Regions from separate parts of the Homo sapiens genome. Here region 1 is linked to region 2. Evidence: promoter capture Hi-C in human tissues and cell types (Jung and others, 2019). All regions are on one chromosome and are shown on one strand. The core of a region is centred on a gene start or on the middle of the fragment in contact, and the rest is flanking DNA. Distances in the headings are between cores, read along the strand shown. Region 1 holds the start of F11R (F11 receptor). Region 2 holds the start of FCRL6 (Fc receptor like 6).

What was found. The method cuts DNA at HindIII sites, captures the fragments that hold promoters and counts their contacts. A contact is called where the count stands out against the background at its distance.
Region 1: the fragment with the promoter of F11R here is called in contact with the fragment with the promoter of FCRL6 in region 2 in 1 of the 25 tissues and cell types used here (adrenal gland).

What each region holds. Positions count from the first base shown.
Region 1 is chr1:161,018,178-161,023,833 of GRCh38, reverse strand. F11R (F11 receptor) reads left to right here and starts at 2,682. Exons shown (of 10, transcript NM_016946.6): 1 at 2,682-2,824. The coding sequence starts at 2,761. RefSeq lists enhancers at 1,952-2,549, 2,702-2,951, 3,252-3,301, 3,312-3,441. The HindIII fragment of the contact is 9,306 bases long and covers 1-5,656 here.
Region 2 is chr1:159,800,874-159,805,911 of GRCh38, reverse strand. FCRL6 (Fc receptor like 6) reads right to left here and starts at 3,552. Exons shown (of 10, transcript NM_001004310.3): 1 at 3,457-3,552. The coding sequence starts at 3,487. LOC105371464 (a long non-coding RNA gene) reads left to right here. Exons shown (of 3, transcript XR_922195.2): 1 at 1-3,374; 2 at 3,765-3,964. The HindIII fragment of the contact is 7,287 bases long and covers 1-5,038 here.

The sequences.
Region 1 (5,656 bases), core at 1,433-3,932, 1.2 Mb before region 2:
AAAGAAAGAAAGAAAAAATTAGCAGGATGTGGCAACGCCTGTGGTCCCATCTACTCAGGAGACTGAGGTGGGAGGATTGCTTGAGCCCAGGAGGTGGAGGTTGCAGTGAGCCATGATTGCACCACTGCACTCTAGCCTGGGCAACAGAGCAAGACCCTGTTTCAAAAATAAAATAAATAAATAAAGGCCGGGCACGGTGGCTCATGCCTGTAACCCCAGCACTTTGGGAGGCCGAGGTGGGCGGATCACCTGAGGTCGGGAGTTTGAGACCAGCCTGACCAATATGGAGAAACCCCGTCTCTACTAAAAATACAAAATTAGCAGGCGTGGTGGCACATGCCTGTAATCCCAGCTACTAGGGAGGCTGAGGCAGGAGAATCGCTTGAACTCGGGAGGCGGAGGTTGCGGTGAGCCGAGATCGCGCCATTGCACTCCAGCCTGGGCAACAAGAGTGAAACTCCGTCTCAAAAAACAAATAAATAAATAAAAATAAAAATAAATAAATAGGCTGGGCGCGGTGGCTCACGCCTGTAATCCCAGCACTTTGGGAGGCCGAGGCGGGCGGATCACAAGGTCAGGAGATTGAGACCATCCTGGCTAACACGGTGAAATCCCGTCTTACTAAAAATACAAAAAAAAATTAGCCAGGCATGGTGGCGGGCGCCTGTAGTCCCAGCTACTCCGGAGGCTGAGGCAGGAGAATGGCGTGAACCCGGGAGGCGGAGCTTGCAGTGAGCAGAGATCGCGCCACTGCACTACAGCCTGGGCGACAGAGCAAGACTCCGTCTCAAAAATAAATAAATAAATAAAATTTCTTAGACACAGAGTCTTTTCCCTATGTTGCCCTGGTTGGTTTCAAACTCCTGGCCTTAAGTGATCCTCCCCTCCTGCCTCAGCCTCCTGAGTAGCTGGGATTACAGGCACACGTCACAGAGCCCAGCTGTCAGTGTATATACCTTTCTCCAAGACTTTAAATTTCTTTCTTTTCTTTTCTTTTTTTTTTGAGACGGAGTTTCGCTCTTGATGCCCAGCAGGCTGGAGTGCAATGGCGCGATTTCAGCTCACTGCAACCTCCTCCTCCCAGGTACAAGCGATTTTCCTGTCTCAGCCTCCCAAGTAGCTCAGATTACAGGCATGTGCCACCACGCCCGGCTAATTTTTTTTGTATTTAGTAGAGACAGGGTTTCACCACGTTAGTCAGACTGACCTCAGGTGATCCACCCACCTCGGCCTCCCAAAGTGCTGGGATTATAGGCGTGTGCCACGCACCCGGCCAAGACTATTAAGCACCCAGTAGGTGGTTTAAATTGAATGGAACCAGAAGCAGAACTTTGGCCAAAGAGATGGGGACAAAGGAATGAGAGCAAAGGTGAAAAAGGCAAAATGTCAAACAATATCATTCTTTTGGATAAAAATGTGGTCTTTTCCCTTGCAATGAGGTAATGCTAAGGAAGTTTTTTCCCCACAGTCTGCATATGCTTAGTACAGTTAAAATTAAATCATCGTAAAATAGAAACTACAACTAGCAAAGGTGTTGAGCATGAATTTCAATTAAAAATGATGTAGCAATATAAATATTAACAGAAAGTTTGAGTATCAACATTGTCTATAGAAAAAAGGTGGCTTAGTCAGCACACAACTATTAGTCACAGTGAGAAAACAAACAATTCTGAAATGTAGGGACCTGTTCACAGATCAAATATGTGTAAAGGACATATCCAGTCACCCAGAGATGTTTCTAGAGCATGTTCAGCTCAGTTTGTATCATCTGGGTGTGTTTTGTGTACATCTGTTTAACTTTCTTCTTGAGATAACGTAATTCTGCTCTTCCCAAGTTGTGTTGTTGTGGGTTTTTAAATTTTTGTTGTTGTTGTTTGTTTTTTGAGACAGGGTCTGGCTCTGTCGCCCAGGCTGTAGTTCAGTGGCGCGATCTAGGCTCACTGCAACCTCCGCCTCCGGGCTCAAGCCATCCTCCCACCTCAGCCTCCCAAGTAGCTGGGACTATACTGCCCAGGCTCCCATTTTCCAGTTGAGTGCTCCCTTTCCCTTTTTTTTCCCCTTTCTTCCTCCCAGCGTAGCTCATCTCTCAAAGCCGGTGGGGTGGACAGAGGAACAGTTTGGAGGTGGTGCCAAAGTAACATTCCATTTCTCTCCGGGTCTTCTCCCCTACCCTCCCATATTAATATTTGTTTTTTACTTGCCAAGAGGCAGGACCAAAGTTTCTGCAGGACCAAACTGCAGGTGCAGTTGCACCAAGCAACTTACATTCAAACAAACACAAAACCCCAAGCCAAGCCGGTCTCCGTAAATCCCACACCACGACTGCCTTTCCTACTTCCTCCTTAGAGGTACTTCTCAGCCCTCTAGCTCCAACTGAGAACCCAGCCAGTCAGGAAGTCGCTACTTCGGGAACACCAACCAATCAGGGGGCCGTCACCTGCTGAAGGTGCGGAATTCGTCTCCTGACGCGACAGTCTCCTGGGCCAATCTGAGGCAGCTCCTGTGGGGAAAGGCGCCAGTGCGCCGAGGCGGGGAGTGGCGGCGGGGTAACACCTGGCCGAGGTGACTCGTTCTGAAGAGCAGCGGTTCCTTACACCAATCGGAACGTGCAGGGGTGGGGAGCTGGCCAATCAGGCGCGGAGGGCGGGGCCGGGCGGGGTTCCACCTGGCGGCTGGCTCTCAGTCCCCTCGCTGTAGTCGCGGAGCTGTGTCTGTTCCCAGGAGTCCTTCGGCGGCTGTTGTGTCGGGAGCCTGATCGCGATGGGGACAAAGGCGCAAGTCGAGAGGAAACTGTTGTGCCTCTTCATATTGGCGATCCTGTTGTGTAAGTTCCCAGAGTTTCGGGAGGAATCGGTTGGTCGGGTCAGAGGTTGGAGGAAGGCTCTCCCCACGCCCCTAGCCCGCGGGAGGGGAGGAGCTCAGAAACCTTCCTATATCGTTCTGCGAATTATCTTTTCCACCCCTGGCTGGTCCCTCTTTCACCACTCTCACAGCTGGGTGAGTGGCTGGCTCCCCTCCCCCACACTGGTGAGTTGTGACCGCACCCCTCACGGCCACCAGGAGGGAGCTGACCCATCTGCACACACCAGAGGTACACTCCTCGTCCTCACTGGAGAGGGCCGTCGGGCCAAGGACCCTTCCACACTCATCTACCCAGCGCGCGCTCCACACGCACCTGGGAAGGGCCAGCCTGCCCCTCCAACGGCCACCCAGCATCCACGAACCCCGCTGCGCAGCCGGGAGCCTTGGCTCCTTTAACGGTCTTCGAAGAAAATCAAATGGAGGTGGTCTGGGGTGGAAGTCTCTTCCCCTAGCTTTTGCTGAAGGAGTCTCTGGCTCTTCTGAATCTTTGAATTGCGGCGGTTGCTCTGGGAAAATGTCTGGGTGCACAGTCTAAAGAGGAAATGCAATAGAAACCTGAAATTTCTCTAAGCGCAGCAGAGGTTCCAGCGAAGTTCCTTTATGGAATAACTACCTCAGGAGTCCTTAATACGTGTTGTTGATTGAGTGACTCTTCCCAGGGGGAGAGTGTATCTGTTGGTTGGCTGGATTCTCATCAGAGCCAGAGCTCTGCCCTCCCTCTGGCTGTGTATGAGAGTTTTTGTTTCCTTTGTAAACTCCCTTTCCTGAGGAACAATGAGGCTCACTTGCTAGGGCATGCCTCTGTCTCTAGATGTGTTTGTGTGGGGCTGAGCGTTTAGTCGGTTGGTTTGTGCGTTAGTCAACCTGTGGCAGTACCTGTGTGTTTATCTGATTCTTGAGTGTGCGTGTCGTTGTGTGAGTAGTTGTGTCAGTATGTGTTCTACATGAGTCTCCCCCCACCCCCAAGGTTCTTGTTTTAGAAAGTGTTAAATGAATGATTACAATCAGTTTGGTGTATGTAGATTCCCTGCCCTTAGATGGATTGACTGCTCATTTCTACCTTATCACAACATAAACCCTTGGGAGAGATTGGACCAGAGGCATATATCATCCTCTTTCTATTTTACTGATAAGGAAACAAGTCCAAAAGGGGAAATGACTTCAATGACAATAGAGTTAGGGGTGGAACCTGGGAATGGAACCAAACCCTCTTGACTTGCTTTTCCTTTTTCCATTCTTTGATCCAGCATCTCAGGCACCCTATAGCACAAGAACTGTTTGGGATACTGCTTCAGAATCTACTGTCTTACTTACCTTTAAACTTACTTTCCCACTAGCTTCTTCATTCATGTCTCCCTCTTTTTTTTTTTTTTTTTTTGAGTTAGAGTTTCGCTTGTTGCCCAGGCTCGAGTGCAATGGTGCCATCTTGGCCCACCGCAACCTCCGCCTTCCGGGTTTAAGCGATTCTCCTGCCTCAGCCTCCCGAGTAGCTGGAATTACAGGCATGCACCATCACGCCCGGCTAATTTTTTGTTTTTAGTAGAGATGGGGTTTCACCATGTTGGTCGGGCTGGTCTTGAATTCCTGCTCTCAGGTGATCCACCCGCCTCGGCCTCCCAACGTGCTGGGATTACAGGTGTGAGCCACCGCGGCTGGCCATGTCTTCCTTTTTTTCTACTCTTTGAGTTCCCTTTTCTTTAATTTCCCTTTTTTCCCTACCCCTTGCCTATTTTACTTCTGCCTGTATTTTAGAACTGCTAGTGACACCCATAGTCAATTTTTGGTTATGTGGTTCTGGTACTAAAGGTTTTTCCAACCTTTGTACTGTGCCAGTATTTTTCCCCTAAGCCCAGAAGTTTCTTCTGTGTGAGTGACTGTATTTGTAACAGTGTTTGTCTGTGACAGTATTTGTCAGGCTTAAAAGCTTCCTGGAGCTGCTTACTCCCTATCCTTTGCCACTGCTTCCTTTCTTTTTTCTCCCTCTAATTTCCTATATTATTTATGATAATCCTAAAATAATCATATACTGGCACTGGAAGGTCATGATAACACCATTTTGAGCTTGGAGGTGTCTTCAGGGAACCAAGCCACAGTAGTGCAGAGGGAACCTGAGATGATGTCGCATTAGCCTGTTAGGACAGTGGGTCCTGGGAAGTGACTTGTCCAGGGGATGGAGGAACTGACCTTGTAACTTTTAAATCAGGCTAGATCTGGGGTTGGGTTGGGGGAGGGGAGTGATTTGGTTAGTGCAAATGAGGATGGAAATGGGAGCTGGGCCACCATACCTGCATTCTAGCTTGGCTTTCTCTCTGCCTTGTTTGTGATCTTAGGCAGTAGCTCAGTCTTTTCATCTGTAAAATAGCAGTAATACTTGTCCCACCTTTGTCAGGAGGATCAACCAGCATAATAGTTACATTACATATACATGAAGGGATTATTTTTGGGCAGCTGTTATCCCCTGTGGATTTTGTGAGGATGGAAGAATGCCAGAATGCTGTCCCTAGCTGAGTAGGTAAAAAAGGAAGCAGGGAGATCCCAAATGGCTAGAGTCAGAAATCAAAAAGCAGGAGCTTTTTCTTGGGTGTCTAGCTTGTCCACTGTCCCTGAGAGGCGTGGATAGGTTGCCCATATGTTCTCCCTGTTCTTCATTGTGGGCTCTGCTGTCAGGGAGGAAGTAGAAAAGGCAAGATAGGACTGACAAGTCAGGCAAAGGCCTGGCCCCAGCTTGGGGAACCTAATGGAGGGGAAACCCTGACCCTGTGGGGCAGAGATCCAGAGGGTAGACACTGGGAGA
Region 2 (5,038 bases), core at 2,303-4,802:
CCTGAGGGTCCTACCTCCAACATCTACAGGAGAACCCATATAGCAAGGGCAGGACCTGATTCTTGTGGTCCCATCTCTCCACAGAGCTCTGGCAAAAAGGGTATGGAAGTGACCAGACTGAGGAGGATAAGTCCCCTGAAAGAGTAATCATTAAAGGATGTGAGACATTATCAGGCAGCATGGATGAATGAGAGAACTACAAACAAACTGGATGCATCCCACATCATGCTTGCATCTTGGATGTGCTACATTCATGTTTTTAAATGAGTGAATGTGTGAGAACAGGTGACCTGGGAAGAGGGGCCAACTCACAAAATGATGACAGATATGGTTAGATAGGTTTGAATAGCCCAAACAATGGAAGACCTGAAATTGAAGGTCATAGCTGGATATGAAGCAGTGAAGAATCTTCTGGACTTTGGGGCAAGGTGTGAAACAATGAATGAATGTAGGGCTGAGTGCAGTCAGTCCAGCCAATCCTCATACATTTACTTGTGTCCTGCATTGCTGGCATGTCCTAGGTATTTTACATAACACCAAAAAAAAAATGCAAGAATGGCCTTGGGAAGGGTGGGTGAAAACCCTCTAAGAGCAGATGTTTGGCTCTGTCACATGGTATCATCTTTGCTTTCTACACTACTTTGGACACAGGTGGAATCTTTCAGCTCAATTCTCTATTCAGCTCAGGGTCAGCTCAGTCATATGCTCTCAAGAGTGTGCAGAACAATGAGTCTCTTCTTTATCATCCCTCCATCTCCACCCCTAACCCCCATCTATGAGCTCGGTGTAGTGGAAAGCATGCAGGATTTGGAATCAGATGACCTGGACTTGAGTCATGAATTTGCCTCTTTCTGTACGACCTTGAACAAGTTGTCTAAGTTCCAAGAGCCTTCAATATCTCATTCTGTCATATCACATAATAGAAATGATAATAGTCATTTTTTTCTTACAGTGTAGTTGTGAAGGTTATGTTGACCCACTGCCTGGGAAAGTGGTTACTACATTAACTGAAAGCAGAAAGAAGGCCTGACCTCAGAGTGACAGAGACCTTACTCTGTAGTTATGTCTTCCTTCCCTTCCCCACCTCACTGGAAAACAATTGTGCAGCTACAAAGTGCTAAACAAACAGGGTTGAGACTACTGAAGCCAAAAACAAGACAGAAGGCACTCAGGAAGCATAGATGCACTTAAAATGAGCTCCTGTCCCCAAATCTCAATGACTTGCTCCCCATGGTACTGCAAGATCTTGGAGGTGGGATTACAAAATTGGTTTCTGCAATCAAAACAGCAGCCAACTGGGAACATACACAGGGGGTGACACCTGCTTACAGCAGTTCCTGCAATGAGGGCCCAGGGACCTCCATTAGCTATAGGCTGAAGATGAGGTGACAGTATCATGAAGTGGCCAAGAGCTATGGTCAAACCAAGTTGCGTAATAGAATTCCGAAAAATGAAGGCAGGAGCCCCTGCCAACTCTAGGAGCAGGATAATTTCCTCTTAAAGTTTCTGAGGGATCGGGAGATATTTATCTGGGAAAGATGCAACAGAGGAAAGACACAAAATACTTGGTGGGCTAAGCTTAAAAGAAGGGGGAGACTTATTCTGAGTTACTTTATAGGACAGAAATGGAAACTAGAGGGATCATGGAGGCAGATTTCGGCTCAACATGAAGAACTCTCTCACCACTGAGCTCTAGCACTGTGGAACAGGCTGCAGTGCCAAGCTGCAGCAGTCACATTGCTGGGAGGGCTGTATGGGACCCCATGACACCTCCTATGGACGCTGTGTGAGAATGCGGGGAGCAGCCTCCAGTGGTAGGAGGGAAGTTGGCTAATGTTCAGCTCAGAAGAAAATTAAGCCTAATTTCCCAAACTTTAAATACATATTTCACATTCAGCCAGGTCCCCACATGCTCAATGTCAGGATTCCTTTCCTCCCGGAGCCCTGACAGCCAATAATAGTAATAGCCACCAATTTATTATGACCACACCCTGCTCTTGAGAGAGGAAATAGCAGCTCTACACTTATGGTAAGATAAATGTTGCTACACACCCAGCCCCAGTGTCTGTGTTTTAGGCTGTTTTTCCAGGGTCCCTGAGCATCAAGTGGGACCAAATTTGCTGGTGCTGGATTCTCCATTACACTGTGCACCAGTCAGCCGGTCACTGATTCCCTTCCTCTCCTCATTTGCTGTCTGTCATCCTCGTCCTGGGTTCCAAGCTGGAACACTCTCAGACTGTATCTAGACAAGTCCAAGGGCTGTTCCTTTTACAAGGTAGTGCCGGTAGTGCCATTTGCCCCTGGGAGTCTTCTGCCTGGAGTATATCCAGGCATTAGGCTATCCTGTCCCCGCCTCAGTGTGAGCATTAGACCTTTTCATTTGTCCAAATGGCCATTCATAGAACACACGAGTAGCATGCTATGCTGGAGAAGGAACATTGAGTGGAAGGGGCATTTTCCTCACAGGGTCAAATTCTCACAAACTCTGTCCAGGAAGAGGTTATATTTAGGAACAGTTTTGCTTTTCTAGTTCAAGGAATACAAATAGCAAGCAAGCTATTGGGACCAAGAATTAAACAAAAAGTAGGTCCACTTGGAAACTGTAAAGTGAAACAAAATATATGCCAAATTATTTCTTTTAGGTATAAGGGGGGTGACACTGGCTGAGACTGAGCTGGGTCTGGGGGAGCCCAGTGACCCTCTGCGTGCAATCCTCTACCCTTAGACCAGCTCTCTTAGTTACAAGTAGCCTGCATGAGAAGAAATGGAGAGAAGAGAGAGAGAGACATGGATCAGACAATGGAGTTGATTCTTCAAACCAGCCCCATGGATCTGAAACAGCTCCCAACAGAGAGAAGATGTAGGCGGAAGAGAGACAGTCAATTTGAAAAGGGCTTTGGTTACTCAGAGCACAGGCCTTTCAACCAGGTGAGAGGTCTGGCCATTGTTACCTGGTTCTAAGAAAATGCTGAGGCTCCATAAAAATATGTCACCCTGTAAAATTCCACCTCCCATTGCTGAGCAAAATGCCTGGGACTGTTTCCCCTCATTTCCCTGACTCCTTCCCTGTTGCCCCCAGCAGCCTCCTTCCCTCCTGCAACCTCCATTTCCTTTTGAGACAGCTCTGATTAGTATTTTAACCTGATGTCACAAGGTAGAAATGTCATTGGGAAGTTAGGGGACTTTGTAATGTGATTTTCTGCCTCCCTAATTTATCTCTGACATATCAAAGGGCTGCGCTGCCAAGGACCCAGGACTACGGGGTAGGAAACACTGAGGAGTTTCTCCTACCCCAGTGCCCATCTCTCCCAAGCATGCCCAGGTGCACACACCTGTCTTGAGCTCCAGCCACAAACCCACTGGAATTGGGAAAGGTAAGATGAGGAACTTGGTGTCTCAGGGATGACTTACGGTCCTTAGTGCTCCAAGAGGGGATGCCCATGCTCGTTGACTTACCAAAGAGCAGCACAGCCGTCCAGAGCAGCATGGGGCCTGTTCTGGCACAGCGGAGGGAACACAGGTCAGAAACAGGTCAGGGCGAAGCCGGCAGAGAGCAACCAGGCCTCAGGACCGAAGGTGGGTGGGTGGCCTGAGCTGGGTGGTGCTATAGCTTGATAGCCAAAATAGGAAGTGGAAAAGAAACTTACAAAGCTCTAATTGATATTTCCTCTTTGGTTGAAGAAGTATTACATGAATAAATTTTCCTGAACACTAAGTATGAAGGAGTCGGTAAATCACTAATAAATCCCTGACATTTTCTGCAGCTTCAACAAGCCTATGCCAGGGAACTAGGATGGAACATGGTTATGGGACACCTCCATTAGAAAGGTCCAGAGACTGCCCGAATTTGCTTGGCTTCAGCGTCATTCAGCCTGGGAGACAGCGCAGCACTGTAAAACTAAGATCATCTACCCCTTGACCACCGAGTGACCTCCCAGCTTCCAAGGAGCTCCTGTCTCCAGAGGTAAATGTGTGTGGATGCTGCAATGCGATGGAGAAGTGGAGCCCTGAGGATGCTTCACAGGATCCTCAGTTCAGGAGGGAATCAGACATCGATGAGTCTGGAGTAGAACACAGATGGAGCTTCGGCATCTGAGGCTTTTAAGACTGTCAGTATGATTTTGAGAACTATTCCTTAAAAGACACCATTAAGAGAAGGAACAGGCAAGCTGTGGTGTGATGAGATAGTTTAAATACATGTAGCTGACAAAGGGCCCACAGAAGAAATATAAGAATTTCTGCAAGTCAGTAAGAAAAGGACAGACAACATACTAGAAAAATGGGCAAAAATAATTGGATAGGTACTTCACAGAAGCAGATATCCACGTGTCAAATCAACATAGCAAAAGGAGCTAGACATCATAAATCACCGTGGAAATGCAAATTTAAACCATAATAAGATACCACTACACCTTCCATAAGAATAAGGGAGTGATACCAGCTGAGACTGAGCTGGGTCTGGGGGAGCCCGTGACCCTCCCCATGCAATCCTCTACTGAGTATTGGTGAGGATGTGAAGAAACTAGAACTCTTGTACACCACTAGTGGGAATATAAATTGGTACAGTCACTAGAAAATGGCTTGGCAGAATCTACCAAAACTAAACACAGGGATCCCTGATGGCTCAGCATTTTCACTCCTGGGTAAATGTCAAACAGAAATGTATACATATAAGCCTGAAAAAACATATACAAGAGTGCTCATAGCAGCATCATTTGTAATAGATAAAAACTGGAAATTATTCAATGTTCCCTCAACAGAAAAAGAGGTCACACATTCTCATCTCCTCTGTGGACAGAACATGGGAGTTCACGGTGAAACACAGAGTCAGGCAAAATACTAGGAAGCATTTTCATTTTCTTGTTTCTTTTCTTTCTTTTTTCTTTTTTTTATTGAGAAGGAGTCTTGCTCTGTTGCCCAGGCTGGAGTGTAATCTTGGCTCACTGCAACCTCCGCCTCCCAGGTTCAAGTGATTTTCCTGCCTCAGCCTCCCATGTAGCTGGGATTACAGGCATGCACCACCATGCCTGGCTAAGCA